3 separate regions of the Homo sapiens genome follow, and all the other regions are linked to region 3. Evidence: promoter capture Hi-C in 16 types of primary human blood cells and fetal thymus (Javierre and others, 2016). All regions are on one chromosome and are shown on one strand. The core of a region is centred on a gene start or on the middle of the fragment in contact, and the rest is flanking DNA. Distances in the headings are between cores, read along the strand shown.

Region 1 (4,529 bases), core at 1,727-4,226, 390 kb after region 3:
CCACTTCCATGATAACTAACTCACTCCCATGATAATGGCATTAATCCATATATGAGGGCAGAGCCCTTATGACCTAATCATCTCTTAAAGGTTCCACCTCTTAATACCATCACAATGGCAATTAAATTTCAACATGCATTTTAGAGGGGACATTCAAACCATAGCAACCAGAAATATTTATTTCTTCACTCAGGTTTGAGTTACTGTCTACCATCCTTTCATTTCACCTTCAAGGACTCCCTTTAGCATTTCTTGTATGGCAAATCTACTGGTAACAAGCTCCCTAACATAGATTTATAATTGCTTTTTTATGTTTTTGTCTTTTAATTCCTATGGAAAATAAAAACTGATGTTATAAACTAAAGTTATAATAATACTGGTTTTTATATTTGCCCTAGAATTTATCTGTCGTGGAGATACTTCTTTCTTCATATGGGTTCAAGTTACTGTCTAGTGTTCTTTCATCTCACTGAAGGACCCCCTTTAGCATTTCTTGTCAGGCATATCTCGCAGTAACAAGATCCCTAAGCTTTTTAAAAATCTAGGCATGTCTTAATTTCTCCCTTATTTTTTGAAGGACAGTTTTGCTGGATATATAATTCTCAGTTGACAGGTTATTTTCTTTCAACATTTAAACTATATCATCCCATTGTCTTCTGGCCTCCATTAATTCTAATTAAAAATTAGTTGATAATCTCATTTAGGATCCCTTGTAATGTGATGAGTTGATTCTCTTGCTACTTTCAAGATTCTTTGTGATTTTTGATAGTTTTCATATACTGTGTCTTGGTATGAATCTCTTTGAGTTTATGGTATTAGAGGTTGTTGTAGAGGCTTCTTGGATTTGTACACTTATGTCTTTCATCAAATCTGGGATGTTTTCAGCCCTCATTTTTAAAACACTTTTTTGCTTTTTTCTAGGACTCTCATAAACCATATGTTGGTCCACTTGATGGTATCCTACAAGTCTTGAAGTCTATTCACTATTTTTATTCTTTTTCTTTATGCTCCTCAGAGTGGATAATTTCAATAATCCTATCTTCAAATTTGCTGATCCTTTCTTCTGCCTGATCAAAAACTCTACGGAAGGCTGGGCGTGGTGGCTAATGCCTGCAATCCCAGCATTTTGGGAGGCCAAGGCGGGTGGATCACAAGGTCAGGAGTTTGAGACCAGCCTGGCCAACATAGTGAAACCTCATCTCTACTAAAAATACAAAAATTAGCTGCGTGTGGTGGCATGCACCTGTAATCTCAGCTACTTGGGAGGCTGATGTAGGAGAATTGCTTGAACCCAGAAGGCGGATGTTACAGTGAGCTGAGATCATGCCACTGCACTCCAGCCTGTGTGACAGAGCAAGATTCTGTCTCAGAAAAAAAAAAGCAAAAAACAAAAAACAAACAAACTCTATCGAACCCTTCTAGTGAATTTCTCATCTCAGTTGTCGCACGTTTCAGCTACAAAATTTCTACCTGGTTCCTTTCTATAATTTTTATATTTTTATTGATATTCTCATTTTGTTCAAACATCATTTCTCTGATTTCATTTAGTTGTCTTTTAACTCTTGTGCATATTTAAGACAATTGTTTAGTCTTTGTCTAGTAAGTCCAAAGTCTGGGATTCCTTAAGGATAGTTCAATTAATTTTATTCCTGTAAATAAGCCAGATTTCTCATTTGTTTGCATGCTTTGTGATATTTTTATTATAACTGAACATCTCAATATTATAATGTGCTATGGAAGTTAGACTTTCACTCTTTCCTAGGATTTATTATAATTATTTTTTTTCTTTTATTTTTTTTTTGTCTTCAGTCTTTGTCTTTATTTATCCCTGTCCCTCCCAACCCCCGGGCTCCCAAGTTCTATCTCACTCCTCCACCTTCCCTGTCCTCTCACAGCTGAGGTTCCGGGCTGTAATGATGGCAATGCTGCCCAGCACAACCCCTGCCCCCATGATGTCAGAAAGTGCCACAGTCTCATGGAGCATATAATACTGCAGTATAAGGGCCACAACCACCTCGGAATGCAGGACAGCGCACACCAGGGCAGGGTGGGCCTTGGTGACCGCATAGCCCACACATGTGAAGGAGACCAAGGCGAGGATCCCCTCTGCCCCCACACAACTCCAACTCAGGAGGTCACTGGGCAACACGGGGGTCTGCAGCACAAAGAGGCCTGGCACACAGCCCAGCAGCCCCACCAAGCCAGATAGGAAGGCCACTGTTGGGAGGCAGGAGGGAAAGTGCAGAGAACGATAGACCAGAAGCCCCAGGGACAGCGCCAGGCCTCCCAGGAAAGCCTGCACATAGCCCAGGGTGGTGTAGACACCTGTGGTCCCCTCCTGTAGTGTCCAGAGTCCAGGTCCCAGAATGATGATTAGTCCTAGGATGCTGCCCAACAGTCCACACCACTCGTAGCCACCGAGACCCTGGCTCTCAAGGCAGAGGGTGAGGACAGCGGAGCATACGGTGGAAGAACCTTTGCGAACAGTGGCAGCGTTGCCAGCGGGCACCACCTGAACTGCACTGTAGGCACATCCAATGCTGAGGACGTTGAGCAGGGCACAGAAGCAGGCCCAGCCTCGGATGTCAGGAGGTCCCAGAAGGGGGTCGCCACGCAGTTTAAGTAGCAGGGCAATAGGGAGGTGGAAGAGGCATCGACAGATGAGCAGCTCCAGCGAGGGCAGGTTGGAACCCTGGTAAGCCATACGAGAAAGGGGGCCCACGAAGCCAGCAGGCAGGCCCCCACCCAGCAGGGCCACCAGCAGGCCATTGGTGGCACCAGAGGGCTGGCAGCGCTGGTGCCAGCGGAGGCTGGGTGGAGCGGAGGGCGGCGATGGGTGTGTGGAGTCAGGCAGGTTGAAGTAGGGGTGACTGCCAGCCATCTTTCCTTGGACTTTCTCCTCTCCTCCTGGCTCAGGGAGCCTGGGCCCCTCAGAGCTCCAGCCATTGTGACCTCATTGGAGTGCGGGTGGGGTTCTTCCCTGGAACTCTCCTGAGGTGGTAGCACGCCTATTTTCCCGCTGAGTCCAACTCTGCTTCTTTTCTTTCTTTCTTTCTTTCTTTTTTTTTTTTTTAATTGATCATTCTTGGGTGTTTCTCGCAGAGGGGGATTTGGCAGGGTCATAGGACAATAGTGGAGGGAAGGTCAGCAGATAAACAAGTGAACAAAGGTCTCTGGTTTTCCTAGGCAGAGGACCCTGCGGCCTTCCGCAGTGTTTGTGTCCCTGGGTACTTGAGATTAGGGAGTGGTGATGACTCTTAACGAGCATGCTGTCTTCAAGTATCTGTTTAACAAAGCACATCTTGCACCGCCCTTAATCCATTTAACCCTGAGTGGACACAGCACATGCCCCAGAGAGCACAGGGCTGGGGTCAAGGTCACAGATCAACAGTATCCCAAGGCAGAAGAACCCCTCCCAGTACAGAACAAAATGAAGTCTCCCATGTCTACTTCTTTCTACACAGACACAGCAACAATCTGATTTCTCTATCTTTTCCCCACCTTTCCCCCTTTTCTATTCCACAAAACCGCCATCGTCATCATGGCCCGTTCTCAATGAGCTGTTGGGTACACCTCCCAGACGGGGTGGTGGCCGGGCAGAGGGGCTCCTCACTTCCCAGAAGGGGCAGCCGGGCAGAGGCGCCCCCCACCTCCCTCCCAGACGGGGCAGCTGGCCGGGTGGGGGCTGACCCCCCACCTCCCTCCCGGACAGGGCGGCTGGCCGGTGGGGGGCTGACCCTCCACCTCCCTCCCGGACGGGGCGGCTGGCCAGGCCGCGGCTGACCCCCCACCTCCCTCCCGGACGGGGCGGCTGGCCGGGCGGGGGCTGATCCCCGACCTCCCTCCCGGACGGGGCTGCTGGCCGGGCGGGGGCTGACCTCCCACCTCCCTCCCGGATGGGGCGGCTGCCAGGCGGAGACGCTCCTCACTTCCCAGACGGGGCGGCTGCCGGGCGGGGTGCTCCTCACTTCCCAGACGGGGCAGCTGCCAGGCGGAGGGGCTCCTCACTTCTCAGACAGGGCGGCCGGGCAGAGACGCTTCTCACCTCCCAGACGGGGTCGCAGCCGGGCAGAGGCGCTCCCCACATCTCAGATGATGGGCAGCTGGGCAGAGACGCTCCTCACTTCCTAGACGGGATGGCGGCCAGGAAGAGGCGCTCCTCACTTCCCAGACTGGGCAGCCGGGCAGAGGGGCTCCTCACATCCCAGACGATGGGTGGCCAGGCGGAGACGCTCCTCCCTTCCCAGACGGGGTGGCGGCCGGGCAGAGGCTGCAATCTCAGCACTTTGGGAGGCCAAGGCAGGCGGCTGGGAGGTGGAGGTTGTAGCGAGCCGAGATCACGCCACTGCACTCCAGCCTGGGCAACATTGAGCACTGAGTGAACCAGACTCCGTCTACAATCCCGGCACCTCAGGAGGCCGAGGCTGGCGGATCACTCGCGGTTAGGAGCTGGATACCAGCCCGGCCAACACAGCGAAACCCTGTCTCCACCAAAAAAATACGAAAACCAGTCAGGCGTGGCGGCGCGA
Region 2 (4,947 bases), core at 635-3,134, 370 kb after region 3:
AGTGTTCAGCACCAAGAAGTGACCTGCATGCATATATGTATATATGTATCTGAAGAGTGAGAAAACTCGCCTAACATAGATCAATATTGCCCCCAGAGACCCAGCAAACTCCAACCCCCCCAGCCCTTGTCCTCTCTCCGCCTCCACTTGCAAACGTGCTTAAACCTATTACTCTCCCACTGCCCGCTCCTTCCTTCCAGCCTCAGGGGTCTGCAGGAGCATGTACGCTGCTGGTACCTTCATGCCTAGCCCCTCACAACGGGCCTTCCCTGCTCTGGACTGGGTGATAATTGCCCAGTTTACAACTTCCTGGCGCCAATGCCCCCTGCCCCCTCCCCACTTCTAACTTAATACTTATATGTCCATGCCCACCTTCATTTTCACTGCGTTCCCCCACTCCAATCTTATTCTGCTTTAAGGAGCAAGAAGGTTTACCAGACGCATTTTCAAGGCAGTCTGGGCTTTAAAACCTCTGACTCATTACATCATCATCATCACCAATGCATCCTCTTAATAGTAATGATCCAAGGAAAAATCAGGCGCCTGGTAACTACGGAGCGTTGGTGAAGCATCTGCTTTCCTGAACTCTTCTTAAACCCTCACAGCAACCCTGAAGCTGGGACCTTTTCCCCATTGTTCAGAATCCACTGACCCGCCCAAGGTGAGGCAGTTACTAACTACCAAGTGAGGTAGGTCCACCGTGTCCCATACCCTCTACTTCCACCACCCCGACTCTTCCCACTTAAGAGATGAGATCAGATGCCTAAGAAGAGACAAAGAGGAAGAAACACCCCCAGGGCCACGCAGGGGGCACCTTTCCTGGCAGCCTGCACCCCTCCCCAGGGGGAGAGCACGGACCAGCCAGGGGGTCGCGGCCCGCGGCCCGCCTAGCTGTGTGCGCCTGGCTTCTTGCCTCGCCAAATCTCAAGTTTCCGCGTCCTCAGAAAGGGGGCAATCACCATGCCATCCTAATAGACTGTTGAGAGCGTTTAATAAAAGCAGTCAATCTATGAAAAGCACTGTGCAAACTGCGCGGTCAGTGTAAAGGCTCAATCCACATTCGCTTTCTCTCTCTCTCTTTTTTTTTTTTTAAACTCTCTGGGCTGGTAAAGTCTGAACTTTACGTGGGGATGATCTGAAAGCTAGAAAGGATCGAGAAAAATCCCAAAGCTCTAAGCCTGAGCTAGGGAGGGTCTCAGAGGGAGGTCTGACTGCAGACCGGGAGTCTTCTCCTCCCGTGCGCCGCTGCCCGGGACGAGAAACCCGTGGGGCATCCAGGACTAGGACACGAGGTCTCAGCCTGGGCAGGTGGACAAGCTGTGGGGTCCCACCCTCCGCAGGCGATGGCTTCCCAAAGTCTGTACAAACCGGTTTCGCCGGGCCGGCCATGCCCGCCCCTCTTCTCGGCGTGGGAAGCCCTTTCAAAAGTGGAGGGGAGCGAGTGTCGCGCCCTGCCAACCCCGACTGCGCCTGGGCCCTCCCCGCGCCGGGCTCCGGAGCCGCCCCTCCTGACTCTGCGACCACGGCCGGGGACCCTGCGCGCGCCCGGGAATGCAGAGTCTCCAGCGCCGCGCAGGGCTCGCCCCGACCTCGGCCGGCCCTGGGCAACCCGCTCCGCGGCCAGTCCCCACTCCAAGATGTGGCTCGGCTCCCACCTCCGCGGGGGGGAAATGTCGGGCGACCCCCACACTGACCTTCCTGCGCACCCAGCGCAAACTACGAACCCAGAGTTGGAGCTGCCCGCAGACCCCGCGCAGCCAGACCCCGCGCCTTTATCCCGCCCCGCCCCGCCCCGCCCGGCGCACCAATCCCCGGCCGAGGAGGGGCCGCGTGGCGCCGCGGGGGGCGGGCCGCGCACGCCCCCCGCAGGGAGGACTCAGGGACAGTCAGGGCCCCGGGAGAGTCCGCGCGCATCGCCCGGCTCCGCGGCGCCAGCCATGGCGTCCGTGCGTGGCCCCGCCAGGGATGGGGCGACGCGGTCAGAGCCGCACGCGACCGAAATCCGCACTCTGGAGCCGCAGAGCGCGCGGTCTTGCTGTTTAGCGGCTCCCTGGCAAGTGACGTGGGGAAGAAACGCAGGGCGCAGGAGAGACAGCTGGAAAGGTTTGCGGTGTAGCTGGCCCAGGATTGAGGGTCTGGAGGTCGGGTGTTGGAAGACCTTGAGCGAGGCACTTCTTGGCCTCCCCAGCTGGGAGGCATCGCTGAAAAATTAGGTGACCCCCAAGACGGTAGACCAGCAGAGTCAGCGTCACCTGGGCGCCGGTTGGAAATGCAGATTGGCAGGTCCCACCCCCAACCCCTCCCGACTTGCTGAGTCAGCATCTCTGGGGGTGGGGCTCGCGCGCCCCCAGCGGGACGCCGGTGCGCGCAGTAGCTTAAGAAGCTGGGTCCAAGGCGCTGGTTCTCAAACTCCGCTGCATATTGCAATCACCTGGGAGCTTTTTAACCTCCAAACGCCCAGGCTGCCCCCGGACCAAATGACAGAATCTCCGGGGCTGGGGGGGACGGGGATAGAGAAGCCCAGACCTAAGTATTTTTTTAAGCTCTTAAAGCGATTCCAGTGTGCTGTGAAGGTTGGACCCACGGTGTGGTCTCTGGACAAAGCAGCCCCCACTCCAGACCTACCGAACCAGGGAATCTGCATTTTAACAGGATCCCCAAGTGACTTGCAGGCGCCTTCGGTTTGGGAGAAACAACTCTAAGGTGTCTTCTGACATTAACAATCTGTGATTTTGTGAAATCTGTCTCGTTTTGTTTAGCGGGCTAGCCAGGCCCCGTTTTCTTCAGCTTCTCCCTTGACTTGATCCCTGAAGATGGCTCTGCCTCTGGCGCCCTTGAAATATGTCGACTAGGTCATGATCACCGTGCATTCTGCTCAGCGTAGTCTCCCCGCCTGAAGTGTTATTAATGCAGTCTAAAATGACTACGGTTCTGCGGTCTACCGAACTGCCCACGGAGGTAGGGGTTTCAGACTTTTGGCATCTCAAGAGACTTGAGATTACCGAGACCACGATACCCCCAGAGACGTGACGAGATGGGATCAAGGCCACGGGGGACCAGAATGCTGACCCAGGCAACCTGTCCCTGCCTCGCTGCCCTTTGTAATACTCCTTATCATATCATGAGGAGCTATTTTCCGTTCTCCACAAACTTGGTGGTGGATGGAAGAGGATATCAAGCTCACCTTGAGTGGGATTGAGGTAGGAGGCGGGGCTCAGACACCAGACCAGATTGAGGACAAACTAAAGCAAGGTCAGGGCCAAAGCAGCTTTCCAACAGATAGGACCACCAGGGTGCCACGTCAGTTTACCGTTGCCATGTCAATACCAGGGAGTTACCGCCCCTTTCCGTGGCAGTAACCCAATAATTACCACCCCTTCCCTAGAAATTTCTGCATAAACCGCCCCTTAATCTGTATGCAATTAAAAGTGTGTGTGTGTGAGTGTGTGTGTGTGTGTGTGTGTGTGTATGTGTGTGTGTGTGTGTATATATATATATATATATATATATATATATATATATATATATATATATATATATAAAACTGCAAAACTGCCCTGAGCTGCTCCTCTCTGCCTATGGGGGAGCCCTGCTCTGCAGGAGCAGTCACGGAGCTGTAACCCTGCCTCTTCAATAAAGCTGTTTTCTTCTACCTCTGGCTTGCCCTTGAATTCTTTCCTGGGCAAAGCCAAGAACCCTCCTGGTGGAAGCTCCACTTTGGGGCTCACCTGCCCTGCATCAGGATTACAGGTGGGAGCGTTGCGGAGTAGAGCGATCCGCTGACACTGCCTCTGGTCTGCATTGGGGAATGGCGGCCGGTCGGGCGGGGTCACAGACCATAGCTTCAAGCTTTGTTCTTGGGGATTCCAGGGACTGAAAAGTGGGTGCTTTCTGGCTACCTAGCATCCACTTCCTCTCTTCCCCATGCAAAGAGGCTGAAGTGAATGGCGTCAGTCCTCGCCCTCCTCAGTCAAGGGGCAGACACTATCTGAGATTTAAATCCTGTCCCCACTAGCAGAGGCCCTCTGAGGCCAGTCCCGCCCAGGGACACTGCCAAGGGCTTCCTGGCTCTAGGACCGCCTTGGGTTTCTGCCCCTTCAGGCTGCTTCTCCAGTCCTCCCAGTGAGCCTGTGTCCTCCTCAGACCCTTTGGCTTCTGTCTGCAAAGTAAGTTTCTGTCCTAACTTAGGGAGTGATAATATTCAGAATTTCTCTCCATTTTCACGGTTGAGATTTTGGCGCTAAAATCACAAACCCAAATAAAAAAATAAATAAGAACAAATAGCCTCTAGTCTATATTCATATAAATAAATAACTGAATGAGTGACTAAATGGGGGGAAAGGGCAACTCTTTTTTTTCTTCGAGGCAAGATGTCACTCTGTCGCCCAGGCTGGAGGGCAGTGACATGATCTCAGCTCACTGCAGCCTGGCCGACAACTCTTTCTTGCAGAATTCCAATTAATACATATGGAAGGAATGAGAGACTTGGCAAATCACCACTGAAACACTACTGCAATCATTGCTGCAGGCAGGGTCCCCAGATGTGGCAAAATTAGCTGGGAAAGCCTAAGGAGAAGCAGGATATTTGCATAGTCTCAAAGCATCTCTCCCAAAATAGATGTTTATCAATAACAAAGGGAAAAATAGTAACTTTGCAGTGAACAAAACTGGCATCACCACCTTAACCACGTGACCCAGGTTTACCTCTCCAGAAACGTGTTGACAGAGGAGGCGCTGGGAAGAGCGCAGCACCCCGGAGGTTTTCCTGCCCAACAATGCACAATCTCATTATGAGAAAACATTAGACAACCCAAATGGAGGAACATTCCTACAAGGTAACTGACCAGTACCCTTCAGAAGTCTCAAGGTCACAAAAGACAGGAAGACTGAGGAACTGTCACAGATTAAGGAGACAATGACTCCTGTCACGTGAAATCCTGGATTAGA
Region 3 (4,406 bases), core at 650-3,149:
TATTTTCCTACATCTGTGCACTCCGTGGGAACTACATTCTTTATTTCGGGTCAAGTTAAGTTCTCCCCAAATGCTAGGGAAAGGTTTTATTTGTTGTTTGTTTTCCCCGCCTACTCAATTTTGAGGGGCAACCTGTATTATTGCCTGTCTTTACCTGGTTTGATTTATGATCTTGGAAGTCAGGTCATTCTTTTCTAGGTCAAAGAAGGAAAAAAAAAAAAAGGACTCCCCCACCTAATACCTGATAAAATATCTGAAAAGGTCATTGCAGACCTTGACGGAGACACAATTTCAACCCAAGCTGATAAAACAACAACTAGCAAACTTTTATCAGAATAAAATGTAACTTTGCCATTTCCCAGCTCAATTGATGAACTCTTTTTTATCTAAAATGACAGATATCATAAGATAGGAAAACCTCTAGATAAGCAACCAAATTGAGTTGTTTGAATCAGATCTGATTGTCTGCCCCTGGTTCAAACTCCCACACCTGCTCGGAATGGGTCAATGAGCGCCTCCTGGCATGGTCCCGAGGGGTTTGGAAACATTGCAAAAGTGGTGAACTTTGAGACTTCAGCGTTTATTCTGCGATTATAATTAACCTGCTCACCAGTTGCTATCGATCAGTTCTAAATGGAGGCGATAAGGTTTGACTGGATTTCTAGAAGTAGAAATGGAGATTTCAACTGGGGAGTAGAAAGGAAGATTTAAAAAATAACTTAAGGACTGATTAGATTTTAAGAAGCAAAACTGGATTTGCGATTAGGGGATCCCAAAACCCATGGCTTTGATCTGCCTGGAAGAATCGTGAGGAAGCTTGAGTACAAAGGAAAACTCCAAAATTCAAAATTCCCACCAAATTGTGGTAGTAACTTCTTGATTTTTTATCCTCCAAAATAAAATATATCTGTAACTATTCAATGTGGGTTACAGACAGCCTCAAATTTTACTTGCAGAGGCTTTTCAATGACTTTAAACACACAGAATGGCCCACCTGTCTGGATTTTACTCCTCCTTTGGAGGGAAAATATATTTTAAAACATCAGGTCAATTCTTGGGCTCCTGCAAAATGCAGAAGGCCAGAAAACCAAATTCCCATCATTCAGATAAGAAACTTGAATATCGTGGCTCAATTCTGATTACAGAGCAGTAATAGATAAAAGCATAGGCCACCTGCCAGAAACAAGAAAACTTCCACTGATGGGCTGCTACATTCAGTTCAGACCAATTCCACGGGGCTTTTCCTGCCTGGGGTTTTAGTCATTGTCTTGATCCATGCCCCATTCTTATCTTTACTAAAATCATCATTATTGTGCTTTTATTATGATTTTCTCCTCTTCTTTCTCTGCTTTTACCACAAATATATTTGAAATCTTCAGAGAAAAGGGAACACAGAGGGTCAGTTATAGATTTCTCTTAGGAAAGGGATTTTTGAGTGAGCCATATGGTTTTGCTCTTAAGCAGCCAACAGTTCCCCTAGAGTTAGGAGAATCCTCCCATTGGAAGGGTCTGAATCCTGGGAAGTCTCTTTAGTTCTCTGCACACCAGAATCCAACGGCTAGAAAGGAAGTTTGTGCAACACTGGGATTCCTAACATTGCATTCCTGAACTGCAGAGCTTACAGTTGAGGAATGATACGGAAGATTCCGTAGGACGACATTGCTCCTAGAGAGACAGTGATTGGTGGGAAGCAAACGGAAACTCAGACAAGAAGCTACCCTGGGGAGAGGAAGCGGATGGGAGCGACAAGTCATGGAAAATCCTAAGGTTTAATAGAGCCCTTCAATCACACATAGCTTCTGGTTCTGAAGAGCCAAGTGCCCTCATATCAGATTTGGCAAATACAAAGTGTGGGGAAAGGGGGAAAGTACAATCCTGCAGGTTGGACTTACCTGGGTTCCAAACCAGGGCTGTTTACTACCCACGGGGACCTGAGATTACAGGCTCTTTCTGGGTATCAGCTTTCTTTCCAGCAAAACAGAGATCATCGTATCTACCTCTTGGAGAAAGACTTCAAAGTCCCTGGCATCAGATGATTTCTTCATTGACAGGGATCCACCTTACTGTTCAATGGAATGACATGCAAGATACAGGCTACTCTCGCTAAAAAGTTGTTAGCCAGTATCCAAACGTGAATGTGCCAAAACTTATAAATGTATTTTGTATAAATTAAAACAGATTCAAGATTATTCCTATTATAACCCCATTTATATTTTCTTCCCTGCCTTCTTTAGAAGGTAACAAAAGAGTAGCTCTAGAGATAGCCATTAAATTACTCTTAGTAACCAGTTTATGTTGTATGGCATATGGGGCCATGTCATGGTCTACCAGAGGTCAATATAGCAGAGCGATACTCCTTCCCAACAGAGCCTTAACAGCTGGTTCTGCAGGCAGGCTAGGACAAATAAGTTCCCAAAAGACAAATAGTTTCAGATGTCAGAAAAGTTGCTTCAAGTTCTTAAAGCAGCAGCTCGCGTTGGCAAGAACTGCCCTCTTCTGGAACAAGGAAAGGAAAACTAGCATACTTCCTCTTTCTTATGCAGACACAAGCAGCTACATTTGCAACTGGCTTCAGCTCTAAATTCAGTACAACTAAATTGTCTTAAAATTTGTTTAAAAGAATCACCTTGCCCTGGAGGAAGGTAACTTGTTCTTCACACAATCCCACCGCTGCAGCCGGTTAGTGGTTTTCAGGCAGGTTCTAACTCCAATATAACCTGAGGGAAAACTGCCTACCTGGAGAGGTCACCATTGCCTAGTACGTGACTGTTTGTGCCCACAAGTGGGGAAGCCACAGTAGTGTGGGGCTGGGGTGTCCGCCCATTGCTGATTTAGATCCACTACCAGCACTGAGACCAGGAGTAGAGATTTCCCCCTCTCAGTAAAGCAACCTCCTGTGAAATAAGCAAAATCAAAAGCCAAATACAGGATTGCCACTGAGGATGGTTTTGATCTGCCTTGAAGAATCTTGAGGAAGCTTGAGCATAAAGGAAAACCCCCAAAATTGTAAAAGAATAGGTAAAAGACAAATTTAATAAAAAACAACTTATGCCTTAAAGCAGTTTTCCTGTGCATCCATAAACACTAAATAGAGAATCTTCTTTAAAAAAAAAAGAAAAAGATGCTACTTTCAGGTTGATTCATGAATATCATGTATCTGTTTTTTAAAACTTAATTAGTTTAATATGTTTTTAAAATTAGGTAATATAGTCACATTCTCCAAATTCAAAAGGTTTCATTTGCATACCCATGTTCATAGCAGCATTATTCACAGTAGCCAAGACGGAGAAGCAACTCAGGTGTCCATCCATGGATGAATGGATAAACAAAACGTGGTCTACACATACAATGGAACATTATTCAGCTTTAAAAAGGAAGGAAATTCTGGCACATGCTACAACATGGATGAATCATGAAGACATTATGTTAAATGAAATTAGCCAGAAACAAAACGACAAACACTGTACGATTCTACTTGTGTGAGGTCCCTAGAGTGGTCAAATTCATAAGAAAAAGAAAATAGAATGGGGGTTACCAGGGGCTGGTGTGGAGAGGAATGGGAGTGGTATTTTAATGGGCAGAGTTTAAGTTCTAAAGATCTGATACACAGCAATGCAAAGGTATTTAACACTACTGAACTGTATACTTAAAAGTGGCTAAGATGATTTGAGTTGTTTTTTTTTTCTGAGATGGAGTCTTGCTCTGTCGCCCAGGCTGGAATGCAGTGGTGTGATCTCGGCTCACTGCAACCTCCAACTCCCGGGTTCAAGCAATTCTCCTGCCTCAGCCTCCTGAATAGCTGGGATTACAGGCACGTGCCACCATGCCCAGCTAATTTTTGTATTTTTAGTAGAGACAGGGTTTCACCACATTGGCCAGGCTGGTCTCCTGATCTCACGATCCGCCCGCCTCAGCCTCCCAAAGTGCTAGGATTACAGGTGTGAGCCACTGCACCCAGCCGATGATTTGAAATTTTTACATTAAACTTAACTTTAACTTCCCTGTATGTTAAATGTATTTTCTTGTTATTAAATGGATTAATAAGGCACAGAAATGAGTATAAAAATGATTAAGGTGGTTAAAAAATTCAAAAAGTTCCAAGGCATGCATAGTGAAAGTCCCTTTTCTACCATTATCCCTCACCTACCCGCTTTCCTCCCCACAGGCAAATCTGTGTTACAAATTTTTTGTGAGATTTTGTATTTTCAAGTGAATATAATCTTTTTCTTTCTTTTTTTTAACACAAACAGTAAAGTGCTATATACACTTCCTGCATTTATAAATGTCTTTGTGAGGATTCCATACATTAGATAATGAACTTCATTATTTCTTGCCTACATAGCTTATGGTTTGTATGTGCCACGTGCATAAAAACATTCCCCTAAGGATGCACATTTAGATTATTT

Evidence for each region. Contacts are between HindIII fragments. The CHiCAGO score rates a contact against its expected background, and 5 or more counts as called.
Region 1: the fragment with the promoter of SLC35G5 here is called in contact with a fragment that was not itself captured in region 3 in 2 of 17 cell types (total B cells and naive B cells); the score reaches 6.9 in total B cells.
Region 2: the fragment with the promoter of TDH-AS1 here is called in contact with a fragment that was not itself captured in region 3 in 3 of 17 cell types (naive B cells, total B cells and M0 macrophages); the score reaches 6.6 in naive B cells.

What each region holds. Positions count from the first base shown.
Region 1 is chr8:11,329,459-11,333,987 of GRCh38, reverse strand. It overlaps SLC35G5 (solute carrier family 35 member G5), which reads right to left and starts at 2,976. Exons shown (of 1, transcript NM_054028.2): 1 at 1,628-2,976. The coding sequence starts at 2,881. The coding sequence ends at 1,865. It also overlaps a transcript of MTMR9 not described here. The HindIII fragment of the contact is 5,485 bases long and covers 532-4,529 here.
Region 2 is chr8:11,344,453-11,349,399 of GRCh38, reverse strand. It overlaps TDH-AS1 (TDH antisense RNA 1), which reads left to right and starts at 1,884. Exons shown (of 2, transcript NR_147705.1): 1 at 1,884-2,103; 2 at 2,760-3,652. It also overlaps the pseudogene TDH. RefSeq lists a silencer at 1,737-2,016 and an enhancer at 1,571-2,194. The HindIII fragment of the contact is 5,915 bases long and covers 1-3,851 here.
Region 3 is chr8:11,715,021-11,719,426 of GRCh38, reverse strand. The region is part of intron 2 of GATA4 (GATA binding protein 4); the gene reads right to left. Among named protein-coding and RNA genes, the nearest start is that of SNORA99, 12 kb to the right of the region's middle. RefSeq lists a cis regulatory region at 560-573 and an enhancer at 495-639. The HindIII fragment of the contact is 2,161 bases long and covers 819-2,979 here.